Linked DNA regions of Homo sapiens: regions 1, 3 and 4 are each linked to region 2. The links are contacts of gene promoters, found by promoter capture Hi-C in human tissues and cell types (Jung and others, 2019). All regions are on one chromosome and are shown on one strand. The core of a region is centred on a gene start or on the middle of the fragment in contact, and the rest is flanking DNA. Distances in the headings are between cores, read along the strand shown. Region 1 overlaps BZW1-AS1 (BZW1 antisense RNA 1). Region 2 holds the start of SPATS2L (spermatogenesis associated serine rich 2 like). Region 3 overlaps SGO2 (shugoshin 2). Region 4 holds the start of LINC01792 (long intergenic non-protein coding RNA 1792).

Evidence for each region. The method cuts DNA at HindIII sites, captures the fragments that hold promoters and counts their contacts. A contact is called where the count stands out against the background at its distance.
Region 1: a contact is called between a fragment that was not itself captured here and the fragment with the promoter of SPATS2L in region 2, in 1 of the 25 tissues and cell types used here (hippocampus).
Region 3: a contact is called between a fragment that was not itself captured here and the fragment with the promoter of SPATS2L in region 2, in 2 of the 25 tissues and cell types used here (hippocampus and liver).
Region 4: a fragment that was not itself captured here is called in contact with the fragment with the promoter of SPATS2L in region 2 in 1 of the 25 tissues and cell types used here (hippocampus).

The regions. Positions count from the first base shown.
Region 1 is chr2:200,806,092-200,809,649 of GRCh38, forward strand. All of the region lies in intron 1 of BZW1-AS1 (BZW1 antisense RNA 1), which reads right to left. Among named protein-coding and RNA genes, the nearest start is that of BZW1, 4.0 kb to the right of the region's middle. The HindIII fragment of the contact is 3,486 bases long and covers 1-3,140 here.
Region 2 is chr2:200,304,986-200,308,492 of GRCh38, forward strand. SPATS2L (spermatogenesis associated serine rich 2 like) reads left to right here and starts at 1,708. Exons shown (of 13, transcript NM_001100423.2): 1 at 1,708-1,937. RefSeq lists an enhancer at 1,083-1,182 and silencers at 1,593-2,322, 2,343-2,672. The HindIII fragment of the contact is 4,989 bases long and covers 1-3,507 here.
Region 3 is chr2:200,578,741-200,582,227 of GRCh38, forward strand. All of the region lies in intron 8 of SGO2 (shugoshin 2), which reads left to right. Among named protein-coding and RNA genes, the nearest start is that of AOX1, 5.5 kb to the right of the region's middle. The HindIII fragment of the contact is 7,879 bases long and covers 1-3,487 here.
Region 4 is chr2:200,734,484-200,738,153 of GRCh38, forward strand. It overlaps LINC01792 (long intergenic non-protein coding RNA 1792), which reads right to left and starts at 694. Exons shown (of 3, transcript NR_037886.1): 1 at 554-694. It also overlaps the pseudogene AOX3P-AOX2P and the pseudogene AOX3P. The HindIII fragment of the contact is 3,272 bases long and covers 272-3,543 here.

The DNA of each region.
Region 1 (3,558 bases), core at 148-2,647, 500 kb after region 2:
TTTTCAATAGAGACAGGGTTTCACCGTGTTAGCCAGGATGGTCTCCATCTCCTGACCTCATGATCCGCCTGCCTTTGCCTCCCGAAGTGCTGGGATTACAGGCCTGAGCCACCGCACCAGCCTCAGGTATTTCTTTATAGAAACACAAGAACGGCCTAACACGCTTAGGTTCTGAAAGTTCTTCGTGGCATTTAGGTATTGAAAAATGTGAGTTGAATTCAAAGCACAGGTATAGAGAACTAACAGAGAATTTCATTTCAGCACTTACTATAACTAGTCACCTAGTGCTAAGGATCTCTGTGCTGGGCAAGCCTTATTGTATAAAGTTCTCTGATGCTAAAGCCTTCTATACTGGTTAAGTTCTGGAAAATGAAACTGCTTTTTTAAAGAAAACTAATTTTATCCCAGAAAGATCTGGGAAATCTTCCAAGACTGCTTTTTAAGAGTAGGACCTGAAATGTATCATTAGAAAAAAGGTTCCACTTTTTCTTATCAGATAAATTGACATTAAGTTTACTTAATGGTAGTCCATGGCCTTGTTCTGGAAGACTAATAATCATCAATTCTATCTATAGTTAGCTTGCTTTGAAAGCAAGGCAGCCTTACTTTCTCACAAAGTTTCTGTGAAGAATTATAAAATGCATGTGAAAATATTTTGTAAACAGTAACATCCTCTATAAATTTAAGGTCTACTGTGACCACTCTATTACTACTAATAGTAGTACATACCAAGTAATAGCAGTAGTACTACTAATAATAGCAATAAGGCAGTGATTAAGTTCTATTTAGTTTAGTTGCTTTTTCATCTTAAATAAAAACTTTCCATCAGCTGGGCGCGGCAGCTCACACCTGTAATCCCAGCACTTTGGGAGGCTGAGGCCGGCGGATCACTTGAAGTCAGGAGTTTGAGACCAGCCTGGCCAACATGGTGAAACCCCGTCTCTACTAAAAATACAAAAATTAGCCAGGGGTGGTGGCACGCACCTGTAATCCCAGCTACTCAGGAGGCTGAGGCAGGAGAATCGCTTGCACCCGGGAGGCGGAGGTTGCAGTGAGTGAAGATCGCACCACTGCACTCCAGCCTGGGCAACAGAGAGAGACTCCGTCTCAAAAAAAAAAAAAAAAAAATTCCATCGCACTGAGGCTCCCAAAAAATGAAATGTAGGTTTTAAAAAAGACATCAAAGAAAGATGGCCATCTAAATATGCCAAGGAAACCGTTATGCATTGGAGATAATTTTCCAACACAGAGATGTTTGGATCTGGCGTCCTTAGTAACATTTCTTTTTTTTTTTTTTTGAGACGGAGTCTCACTCTGTCGCCCAGACTGGAGTGCAGTGGCGGGATCTCGGCTCACTGCAAGCTCTGCCTCCCGGGTTCACACCATTCTCCTGCCTCAGCCTCCTGAGTAGCTGGGACTACAGGCGCCCGCCACCACGCCCGGTTAATTTGTATTTTTAGTAGAGACGGGGTTTCACCGTGTTAGCCAGGATGGTCTCGATCTCCTGACCTCGTGATCCGCCCGCCTCGGCCTCCCAAAGTGCTGGGATTACAGGCGTGAGCCACCACGTCCGGCCTCTTAGTAACATTTCTTAATCTTCAGTTCTGCAGTAATATTCTAGGAGATATGAACTATTAATAATAAGCAGTAAACAGTTTTTTCTAAACAATCCTATAGCTAACATACCACATGCCATTACACTGTTCTCTTGTTGGTTTTTATTTTGCTTCGTTTTAATGAATGTCTTGAATGCTATATAACTTAGAATGCACATATTTAAATCACCCCAAATATCACTTATTTGGCAACTCACTTCAAACTATATTCTGAACAAGCACTTTACAGGAGCAAAGAGTTTTCACCTTAACCTGTCATTATTCTGATGTTAAGAGGGGAGAGAGAGAAACAGAAAATGCATGTATGCCAAATTTCTTGAATCCCTAAGCTTCCCAATTATTTCGGCCTATTCAAAAATCGAGTCCAGGTGTGGTGGCTCACGCCTATAAATCCCAACATTTTGAGAGGCAGAGGTGGGAGGATTGCTAAAGCCCATGAGTTGGAGGTCATTCTGGGCAACATAACCAGATCCTGTCTCTATTAAAAAAAAAAAAAAAACTAAAATCTAAATAATAGAGTGTGTTTGCTAAAAGAGGGTATTTATTTAACAAATATTACTAAAATGTTAATGTAACTAAGCAATGCTTTTTATCTTGATTATGTCAAATATTATTAATAATTATAACTATTAAAATAATTCTATGAAGAAGTAAAAGAAATGGTATATATGAGATATGTAGCAAGTGAATGATATTTAACACATTTTTTACCTAAAATGAAATTATTTAAAAGCTCATTGTACCTCAAAGCTTTTTCACTGTAAAAATTTTGTGGAGCCTATGAAAATACTTCTGGCCACACATACATACATAAATATATGCATACATATATAGGTGTGTGTAACTAGAAGTATTTCATATACATATGCTACAATATTTAAGCCAGGTTCATAGGATGTTCTATAAGCTTCTACAAGACTCAAAGCATAGGAATAAATACTTCCCCCAGCTCATTTTCCAAGGGCAACAATGTGCTTTTCAAAACAGGCCCTTGATATTCTTCTAGTTGTTAGGAATAAAAACCTATTGTCACTTGCTTTTAAAAAAGAAACACTTAGGTATCCATTCCCATCAATGAAGTTAAAAGCAGTAGCACATTCACATGTTGCACTTAGCACCTTTCTTTTTAAGTAGTTCAAAATTTTTAAATCCAAAAGTACTAAGGGGGATTCACAGCAATGGCAGAGTGAAGAAATCAGCATATCCTTTTTCCCAAAACAACCATAAAACTGGGCAAGGCTAGGCGTGATGATTCACACCTATAATCTCAGCACTTTGGGAGGCTGAGGCGGGAGGCTCACCTAAGGCCAGGAGTTTGAGACCAGCCTGGGCCACAAAGCAAAACCCCATCATCACCAAAAAAAAAAAAAAAAAATTAGCAGACTCAGTGGCTCATGCCTGTAGCCCAATTACAAAGAAGGAATGTGTTCACATCCATGACTAAGAAAGGCTTATGGGAAAAAAGCAGTAGTTGAGATAAGGCTTGAAACAATAGTGGGATTTTGACAGTGGAAAATGAGGGAAGGACATCTCAAGAAAGGTCAAGACAAGATGTGTCCTGTCTGACCAAAGCATAGAGTTCAATTGTTTGGAACCTTTTCCTACCATAATACAATTCACAAACAACGTTTCCCCTGCTAGCTGCACGGTGCCTATTCCCATGGGTGCACCCAAAAGCAGAGAAAAGATAAGTGGCAAGGTGTGGTCTGTAATCCCAACACTTCAGGAGGCCAAGGTGGGAGGATTATTTGAGGCCAGGAGTTCAGGAAAACCTTTAATCCACTTTACATTTTAAAGAAAATAATCTGCTTACTTTAATATCATTTTTAGTCAAAAATCATTTGCTACATACCCCACAATGATGGTAATAACAGGTTAAGAACCACAAATGTGATGGGAAGTAAAGGTGAAAAACATTGGTCAGAGCTATCCCTGAGTATAA
Region 2 (3,507 bases), core at 458-2,957:
GCTAAAAACTTAGGCAACTTATTTCACCTCTCTGTGCCTCAGTTTCTTTCTTTCTTTTCTTTTAAAGGCTCTGGCTCTGTTGCCCACACTAGAGCGCAGGGGTGTGATCCTGGCTCACTGCAACCTTAGCCTACCTGGTTCAGGTAATCCTCCCACCTCAGCCTCCTGAGTAGCTGGGACTACAGGCGTGCACCACCATGCCCGGCCAATTATTATTATTAGTTTTTTTGTTTTGGAGGGATGGAGTTTCACTATGTTGCCCAGGCTGGTCTTGATCTCCAGGGCTCAAGAGATTTGCCCACCTCGGTCTCCGAAAGTGTTGGGATTACAGGTGTGAGCCACTGGGCCCAGCCCTCAGTTTATCTGTAAAACAGGACAAAAGTAGTACCTACCTGATGGGGTTCTTCCAAGGATTAAATGAGCTAGTACTTATAAAGCACTTGCTAATGTCTGTTAAATAAATTATATTATCCACACACCAATCCAAGGCGACTATAAGGTAGCAAGAACCACTCCAAGTCACATAAGAAAATGAATTCCTTTCGTTTTAGCTCCTCTCTTTATTTCAGCAGTGCGTTGTCAACAGGGCCACATTATGTTAGCAGATTTGAACTTTATCCGAAAGGTGTTTGTATTTTATTTCAAATTATGAATTCCTGAACATCGGATTATGTACGATTCTGCAGTGCCCTCGGAGGCCCATTAGAGTCTGGAGCTCGAGAAGCATAACAAACTCTGGTCTGATATTTGTAAGGAGCTTGACAGCCAAGGAGCCACTCAGAAACAGTTATTGGTATTGCCAAAAAAAAAAAAAAAAAAGGAAGCTAAGAAGTCACCCTTCTAAATAAATAAATAAATAAATAAATAAATAAAAACCTGAATTGGAGAGCTGCCTGCATTTCACTCTACTGCCTCTGGAAGAAGAGTGTTATCTAAAGTGCTTCCATCATGAATAATGATTGAGAAACTGCTTTTACTCTCCCGACTACTGTACTCCCAGGCAGAAACCCACGGCTGAAGCCCACGATGCCCATGTGTAACTTGGTTATTACACACACGTTTGGAGCCCAGTGTGCAGACCCGCAGCGCAGAGGAGGCGGCGGAACACCCCGGGTTGGTCGGGTTTCCAAGGGCTGACCCGAGCTCCAGCACTTTTTCCGCGCCTGATTTTTCAGGTCATTTTCGAATGGGCTATCTTTGCTTACATTTTGAGCTTGGATCCTCTCCAGAAAGCATTACTACCTTCTAAAAGGAAAAACATCTCGTATTTGCAGACAGTGCTGAGGGAGCAAAGTTCATTTTCTCGGGTAGGAGAAGATGATTCTCTTGCAACACGTGCGGATTGTGACAAAATCTTTCATTAACAAGGGGAGTTTCGGTGAAGTGGAGGTTTGGGGAAAGGCGAGGAAGTCGGTCTGGAGCAAGCAAGCAAAGTGCGGAAGCTGTACTGGGATTCTTCTAGAAAGTGGGGTGGGAAAGGAGCTAGGGAGGGCGTGTGGAGGGACGAGATCTGTGTCAGAACGTGCGTGTGAGCGGATACAAAACCCGAGAGAGGCGTGAGCAGCGCTGTGTTTGCGAGCGGGAGCGAGGGGCGCCGGCTGGGGTGTGTGCTCCTGGTGAGTGACACCGAGGGGAAGGCGGGCGGGTCGGCGGGCGGGGGCAGCCTGCGAGGGGCGGGAGTGTCCCTGCGTGGGGCGGCCGAGCCGGAGTTGTGTCAGTGAAGGAATCCAGTCCGGGGGCCGAGCTGGCTGCGCCCTCCGCTGCAAGCGCCGGCAGCGCGGGGCGAGCTCCGGACGGCGCGCGGCCCAGGCAGCGGCTCCCGCTCGGCCCGCCCTCCGAGCCGCAGGGGCCGCCACCGCCGCGGCGCCTCCCCTGGCGACCGCGCCCCCGGGCCCCGGCTCCGGCCCGGGACGGAGGAGCCGGCGCTCGACACAGAGGTAAGCCCAGGACCCCCTCCACGCCGGGCCGGCTGGGGATGCAGGGCGCGGGCGGACGCGGAGGGGCCTGCGCGGCCGGGACGGAGACTCGGCTGGGCCGAGCATTCCGCAGCCCGGGCCGCCCAGCCTCCGCCGCCTCCCGGAGCGCTGGGTGTGGCCCGCGCTCGGCGCCGAGGCGGGCTGGTGGCGCGGACCGGACGCGAAGGTCGCCGTCCTTCCTTTCTCCAGCCGGCGCGGGCAAGCGGGAGGAGGCGCCGGCTGGGACGCACAGTGGCGCTCCCCGGGCGAGCGTGTGGCCGCCGCGCTCCGACGTGTACCCGCCCGCCCCGGATCTGAATCGCCCGCGGCCGCCGTCCCTCGCCTGCCGTCCTCCCGCGCGGGCGCCCCCGTTCCCTCCCAAGCCGGAAAGAGACCCACCGTCCCCCAGGCTGCTCTCTGGCCCGGAGCCGCAAAGCCCACGTCAGCCGCGACCACCCCGCCCTCGGATCCCAGCCGGGTGCGGGGGCCGCGGCCCCACTGAACCCCGCGCCCCTGGCGCCCAGCGGGAGTGGGATGCGTTGGCGTCCGCGCTGCGCGGGTGGGCTGGGGTGGCCGGAGCAGACGCGGAGCGCCCTGGCCGCGGGACGAAGCGGTCGCGCCGCCGCATTTGGGCGGGGGGACCCCGGAGTCCGCGGGCTGCGGACCCCAGCGGGAGACGGGGTTGTCGTAGGATGCGCTCGCGCTGGACGCCGGCGCACTCTGAATATCATGCTGCCGCACACGCGGGGCTGAAGGGCCGAGTCTTCACCTGCGCGGGGATGCGGCGGAAGCGTCGCGTCTTCGCGAGTGGAGGTTTCGTGTTCCCGCGGGGTTGGTGTGTTTTTGAACTTCACGAGCTTCTCATCCCCCCCGCAATCCTGGTTTTAGCAGATGTCGGGGTTTTGGAGACCTGACACTTTTCGTGAAAGATTCTTTCTGTACGTTTTCTTTTGGCTATATTACAGGGTTTGTAGCTTGAGAACTAGTGAAAACCCTTGAACTTCAAACACAGTCTCATTGCTTATTTTTTGAAATTTAAATATTAAAATATGTACCAGCCCCCTCACAAGCCGACAGACTTTAAGACAAACGACTGTGAAATTTTAGAACCTGTGCAGAGAAAGTGGTTTTATACCAGTACTTGAAATAGTAAGGTCGTGTAACCTTTTTAACATCGTTTTAGTTTGTCTTAAAGGAAGGTTTCAGCACCACTTTGACTGGTACTGTTTTCCAGAGTTTAAGCAGATGTATGTAATATAGCAGGGAAGAGGACAGGAAGTCAGAAATCTCTTCACTCTGAAAAAAAAAAAAGACTTCAAATAATACAACCAATACCCTGAAAATAGAGTGGCCGTCTGGATAAAGTATTTGATAGGCCTTATGAAATTGTGTTGCTTAACCAGAAAGCAATGTGTTGTTAGATAGGGCAGTTTTATCTAGTAACTGTCGTGTTTAAAAATATCTGTGTATGATATTCTTTGTTGAATTTTAACTGGGGAAAAATCAACTTTGGGAATGGGTTTCTATTTGGACAAGGCAAATACTGCAGTTT
Region 3 (3,487 bases), core at 250-2,749, 270 kb after region 2:
CACCTTTGCCAGTGGTCTCCTTGTTTATTGTAGAGGATCTATAGTATGTTTTAATGTCTGGTAGGGCTAGTATCCTCTCATGGTTTTTCTTTTTCATTGTTTCCCTCACTGTTCTTGAATGTTTGTTGTTACAAATGAATCTTAGGATGGTATTGACTTGTCTGGCTCGGTTTCATAACCTTGGCACTGTTGACCTTTGGGGCTAGGTATTTCTCTTTTATGGGAGGCTGTCCTGTGTATTGTAGGATGTTTAGCTGTATCCCTGACCTCCATCCACTAGATGTCAGTAGCACCCTCACATTTATAACAACCAAAAATGTCTCCATATGTTGCAAAATTTCAACTGGGAGGCAAAAGCATCCTGAGTTGAAAACCACTGGTCTATAAGTATTTAGTTTTCTTTGTTGCTATTATATATGGACATGTAACTGATGCCCAATGTTGTTCGTATATATGAAAGCTGTTGAATTCTGTGTCAGTTTATATCTTGTTACTTTCTGAACTCTGTTATTCTCTTATCTCACTGATTGTCTTGAGTTCTCCAGGTATAGTATGATATCATCTGAAAATAGAGATAGTTTTACTTCATTACCCTGTTTGTATGCCTCTTACTGTTTTTATATTAGCATTGGCTAATAACTCAGGTACAATGTTAAAATAGTAGCAGGAATAGTAGGCATGCTTGCCTTGTTCCTGATTTTAGTAGAAATGCTTCTGTTGAAGTATTTTTGTCTCTCCATTAAACAAGATACTTGCTGTAGGATTAAGATATGTACATAATTTACTAAGAAAATGCCCCTTGATGCCTATTGAGTGTTTTTATCATGAATGATTGTTGAATTTTGTCAAAGGCTTGTTCAGCATTTATGAAGATAGTAATATACTTCATTTACTTACATGTATTAACATGGCATCTGTTGATGAGTTTTCCAGTACCGAACTAACCTTGCTTTCCTGGAATAAATCTCACTTGATCACGGAGTATGTTTTTCATAATGTGATGTTGAATTGAGTTTGCCAAAATATTTTGTTTAGAATTTTTATATCAACATTCATAACTGATGTGAGTCTATAGTTACCCACCTTTGAATTGTCTTTATCTGGCCTAGGTATCATATTAAGGGAATCAAGAAAGTCACCATCTTGGTTCCTTTAATGAAATAATTTATATTTCATTATAATTTATAGTGCATTATAATTTATGTTTATAATTATTTGTATGTTATATACTTATATAATTTTAGAACAGTGGGACTCTCTGGTTTTTGTAAGTTTGTTAGCATCCCCCTCTGAAACCATCTGGACCTAGTACTGTTTTGTGTGGGATAGTTCCTTAATAACGTTGACTGTTTTTTGTGTGTATGAAAATTAGTCTGTTTAAGCTTTTTTGCTGTAATGGGGTCAATTTTTGTTATTTGTATTTCCACAGGAAATTATCCATTTCATCTAAGATTTCAAATTTATTTGCATAAAAGTCTGCAAAGTATCTTTTATGAATTAGACATGTAAATTAATTTTAAATCTTTTTTCCCATAATTATTTTACCTATATCATTTATTATTTTTTGTGTTTGTTCTTTTTCTCTTTTTCTTGATCAAATTAGGTAGTAGTTTATTTATTAACTTTTCCAAAAAATCAGTACTTTGATTTACTAATTGGATCTATTTTTCTGTTCTCTACTTCACTGACTTCTGCTTCATATTTATTATTTCCTTCTTTGTGTTTTCTTTGATTTACTTTATTATTGTTGTTTTCCCATTAAAATTTATTGTTTTTATTCTTTCATTTATATAGATAACAGTGTTTTATGGACAGGCACAGTGGCTCACACCTGTAATCCCAATACTTTGGGTGGCTGAGGTGAGAGGATCACTTGAGCCCAAGAGTCGGAGACCAGCCTGGGCAACACAGGGAGACGCTCACTCTACAAAAAATTTAAAAATCAGCCAGGCACATTGGCATGTGCTTGTAGTCCCAGCTGCTACTAGAGAGGCTGAGGTGGGAGGATAGTTTGGGCCTGGTAGGTCAAGGCTGCAGTGAGCCATGATTGTGCCACTGCACAGAGAAAGATCCTGACTCAAAAAATTAAAAATAAAAATAAGTAAATAGAACACACACAAAAAAATTTTTTTTTAAAGTGTCTTTTGCAATCAATTTTTCTCTGATCAGTGCTTTCAATGTATCTTGATTCTGATACATAGTGTTTTCAATGTCGTTTTTAAGTTTCTCCTTTTCTTTAGGAGTTATTAGGAGGTTTTAAAAATTCCAGGTAGATGAACCTTTCTGGTTTTTTGTTTTTATTTGTAAATCTAGTTTTATTGCATTTTGGTCAGAAATTATTTATTGTAATATTTCTGCTTTATGGAAATTGCCAGTATTTTCTTTGTGACCTACTATAGGATCAGCATTTATAACTGTGCTGTGATTGCTTAGATGTATATTCTCCATAATCAAGGTCTAAAGTTTGATATATATCCATGAGATTTACTGTATTTATTATGTTGCTTAGATCTTCTGTTTCTTATTTTTTGTAAATAAGTGATCTGTTTTGTACTAAGGTTATACTAAGAGTTGTATATTAAAATCTACTGTGTCCTGTGTTTCCATGTATCTCCTGTAGTTTTTGCTTCAGAAGGGTGGTTGCTCTGCTTTTTGCTATGTAAATATCATGATTATTACTTATTCATTTTGGATTATGGCCTTTATTATATTAAAAATGTCCTCATTTGTCATGTTCAGTGCTCTGGACTAAAGACTTAAAGTCTTTAAGATATAAAGACTTTAAAAACATATTTATGAGACCTTCCTGATAACTCCTACCACTCCTATCTTCAATACCTATGATGATCATTCCATAATAGCAAGCAGCTTTAATTAGGATGTACTTTCATGGGAGCTACTAGAAGCTGTGATATACCTAGTGTATACCATTTCCAATCCAAAAAGAAGGAAGAAAAAAAAGTGGCAACTGGATGGTCATCACTCGGAATTTATACTGAATGTTGTGGCTTTTGCTTTTAAAAATTTTACCAACTAAGCTGTATAGCAAATCATCTGCATGCACTGTACATTTAAACTAAAATAGAACCTTATTTCCTTACAGCATTTTGCTGTGTTTTATTTAGAATAGGTACTTCTTTTGAAAGGATTAATTAAACTCTATCTAATTACCCAAGGCAGTGGTATCACACTGGCTCTGAAGAGGAGTACGAAGGAGTGAAAGAGACCTTTCCACCTAATCTTGTATACCTTTTTAAATTTGGGACCATGTCTATGTATTTCATCTAAAAACCACATTTACACACATGCATGTAAAATATAACTAAACTCCATAACTTGAAACATGATGTATTAGGTGCAGGAATCTACCCTCTTACTGAAAAAATAAAATTATTGGGTAAAATACTAAAAAACATACCTTGAATGCATTTCTTAACTAATGACTATTAGCCAACCAACATTTCTTTTAGTAGGAAAGTAAGAAAAG
Region 4 (3,670 bases), core at 658-3,157, 430 kb after region 2:
TCATTTCTTGACTCTCATCTTTTACACTTATTTTAATGATTTGACTATTGTATTTGTATTTAATATGAATGCTTTCTATAAATAGACTCATGTAAGGCTTGTTTAGGAAATAAGTGAAATTGAATTAAATACGTATGTCTAACATGAATCTATTAAGTTTCTCAGCAGATGAAAAAGACCTTCCTTATAACAACACTTGTCATACCTGAAGAACATTATTTAGCCAGTTCTTAATCTTCTCTTTACCAGAATTGATCACAAAAATTTTAACTCATTTTTAGCTTTTGAAACAATGACAAGTTTACAGAAAATTTGCATGTACAGTACAAAGAATTTTTTTTACCCTGAATCATTTGAGAGTAAATTGCTGACCTAATGCCCCAAACCCCTGAACACTTAAGAGTTTAGTCCTACACACTATACAATATACCCATCAGAATCCAGAAATTAACAGCAGTTCACAACTACTATCTAATTATCAGACTCCATTCAAGATTCGCCAGTTGTCCCAATCAAGTATTTTATAGCAAAAATATTCAATACAGAATCTCACTTTTCATTTAGTTGTCCTGTCTCTGAGGTGTCCTGGAGCAGGAATCAGGTCTCCCCTCTCTCTTTGACATCATGACTTTGACACTTCGGAAGAGTTTGGCCAGTTATCTTGTCCAATGTCTCCCATTTTGAGTTTGTCTATTGTTTTGTCGTGGTTAGATCGATGTTATGAGTCTTTGTCAGAATATTACAAAAGTGACTCTGTGTTCCCCTCATGGCATCCTGCCAGGTGACACATGACTTCAACATGTCCCACTTGGTTAAGATGGTGTCTACCAGGACTCTCCACAGTGAGGTGGTTTTTCTCCTTCTGTAGTTAATAAATATTCTGTGGGGAGATACTTTGAAACTATGTAAATATATTGTTCCTCATTAAACTTTCTGTTTATTTTTTATTATTATTATTATTTTTTGAGACAGACTCTCGCTCTGTCGCCAGGCTGGAGTGCAGTGGTGCAATCTCAGCTCACTGCAACCTCCACCTCCCAGATTCAAGCAATTCTCCTGCGTCAGCCTCCCGAGTAGCTGGGACTACAGGTGTGCGCCACCACGCCCAGCTAATTTTTGTATTTTTAGTAGAGACAGGGTTTCACCATGTTGGCCAGGATGGTCTCGATCTCTTGACCTCGTGATCCACCCGCCTCAGCCTCCCAAAGTGCTGGGATTACAGGCGTGAGCCACTGCGCCTGGCCAACACTCTTTTTGTTACTGCCATTCTACCCCTCAGGTCCACCCCACAGCCTGTCCAATTAGCTATGTGAGTTAACTGCTCAGTTTGGTCTCTGCAAAGCAGAGCTAAAACAAACAATGCGCCTTCCTTTAGGGCTCTTAAAATTAAAGCATGAGTACCCTCTAGTGGCTTGCAGGAAAGTTTCCACGATTCTCGAACTTTTCCTAAGTCCCAGATGAGTGAAGGACACTGGCAGGGGTGGGATGTACTGGAGCCAGATGTGTTCCCCACCAGCACACCCAGGAAATACATTTTTGCACAGCTGTAATTTTGACTTAAACATTTGTTTAAGGTTTGCATGCTCAATCATATGACCTACATGTTTGGCTCAGTATACATTTGTTTTCTCAAAATCTTTAGTATAGTGAGTGCTCCAGAAAGTCATTGCATGTTTACCTCATAGACCCATGAACTCTGAAAAGCATAGAGTTCCACTGAAATGCCCTTTCTGAGAATCAAAGTTGAAGTTCTTTTCACTTGCATTGGAAGAAACCTAGATTTTGTGACCAGAGATGGAATAAAATATGAATAGAACCACATTAAGTAGAATGTTCTCAGTATAGCCTGGCAGAAGGTGTGTCGTGCCTAGCATGAGGTGACATGGTGATGTGTGCAATGGAAATGGAGTTATTTGGCTTCAAACTGTGTTTGAACTCTTATGAGGATTCAGGCAATAGAGCAGACAGGGATACTTCAATCCCCACTGGGGTTGAACTGCCCTTTTCCCTCTGTGTCAAATAAGAGGTGGTGATGCTGGTCTATGTGATGCTTCTGACCTTAATAATAATTATGTTTTTTTGTTTCTGGTTTCTCCTCCACTAATAAGGCTCTGGGTCTTCTCCTTAGGGAGAAGGAATTGTATGACTGAAAAAAAAAAAAAAAAAAAAAAAAGCTTGATTTTCCTAGTACTCCTGCAACGATAAGGCAGGCCAGGACCTTCCAGAAGTTAAAAAACAGGCTCCACTGAAACCTGTGATAAGGAAGCAACAGACCATCACTGATGGGTCTGGGATGAAATTAGATCCCCTGTTACAGAGTACATTTTAGGAGACGCTAAAACAGAAACAGGGTGAGAACTCCAGGCTGAGACATTCCAGCGGGGAGGGATAGTTTAGATTTGTTTAGCATAAGGATAACAAGGAGCAGCTCATGGTTCCCTTATCAACTAAATTAGCTGAGATTACTGAGGCAGCGGGGTGTTGCATGAGTATGCTGGCAAGGTGGGGGAGGTGTCATGCCAAGTACATTCTTAATATTGATAAAATACAGCTATGTAGGAGGGTGAAATATTCTCAAAGATTAGTCAACAAGAGATAAATCAAAGCCCAACCTGATAAAAACAGACTAACTGCAATTAGAACCAGCCCAGCTAGTAATGTCAAGTCACTCTACGTTAGTGTTTCATTCTGCAAACCCCGGGTGTGAAGGATTAATTTTAAAAGGCTGCCTAACTCATCTCCTGGGGGTTTGGGTGACTACTTCACTTTTTAAGACTGATTTGAACCCTTTCATCCTTACTGAAGAAAAACCCTGAAGCTCATGCTAATATCCTGCCAATACTCACAACTTATGGCTCCAAAGTTGGTTGAAATTTTGAATTATTTCCTTGCCAGTTAGCAAATAGCATTACTTCGATCGCTAGATGCTCTCCCATTACTTCCCTGGACCCTTCCCAGGAGCCCCCAACTTCCTCATACCCAGTAACGCTCAACATAAATGGCTGGGGCAGCTCCTTACATGGGCCAATTGACCAGTGCCCCTCACAAAACTGATTGTTGAAGATTTTGAGTATCGGGTGCAAAACCTGAAATCCAAGCATTACAGATTTTAGACAACAACCTGGGGAATTGAATGACCTTTGCCTTATTGTAATGCCATTCGATTTATCCCCCTTAATCACAAAGCAACTTTGCATAGCTTCACCACAATCAGTCAGGAGGAGGTCATGGAAAATTCTGGTAAGGTCTGCCACCTGCAAGTTTTTGCTGTCATTCCTTCTCTCTAGCCTCTATTTCCTTGTGTCTGTCAAAAGAAGAATGTGGACCAGCCCAGGAGATCTCACTCTGGCTGTGTAAAAACACCTTGAAGCCTTTTAAAAATCTGCAGAGATCCAGGCTGGGCGCAGTGGCTCACGCCTGTAATCTCAGCACTTTGGGAGGCCAAGGCAGGAAGATCACTTGAGGTCAGGAGTTCGAGACCAGCCTAGCCAACATGGTGAAACACCGTCTCTATTAAAAATACAAAATTAGGCTGCGCAGGTGGCTCACGCCTGTAATCCCAGCACTTTGGGAGGCCGAGGTGGGAGGATCACCTGAGGTCAGGAGTTCGAGATCAGCCTGACCAATATGGAGAAACCCCGTCTTTACTAAAAATACAAAATTAGCCAGA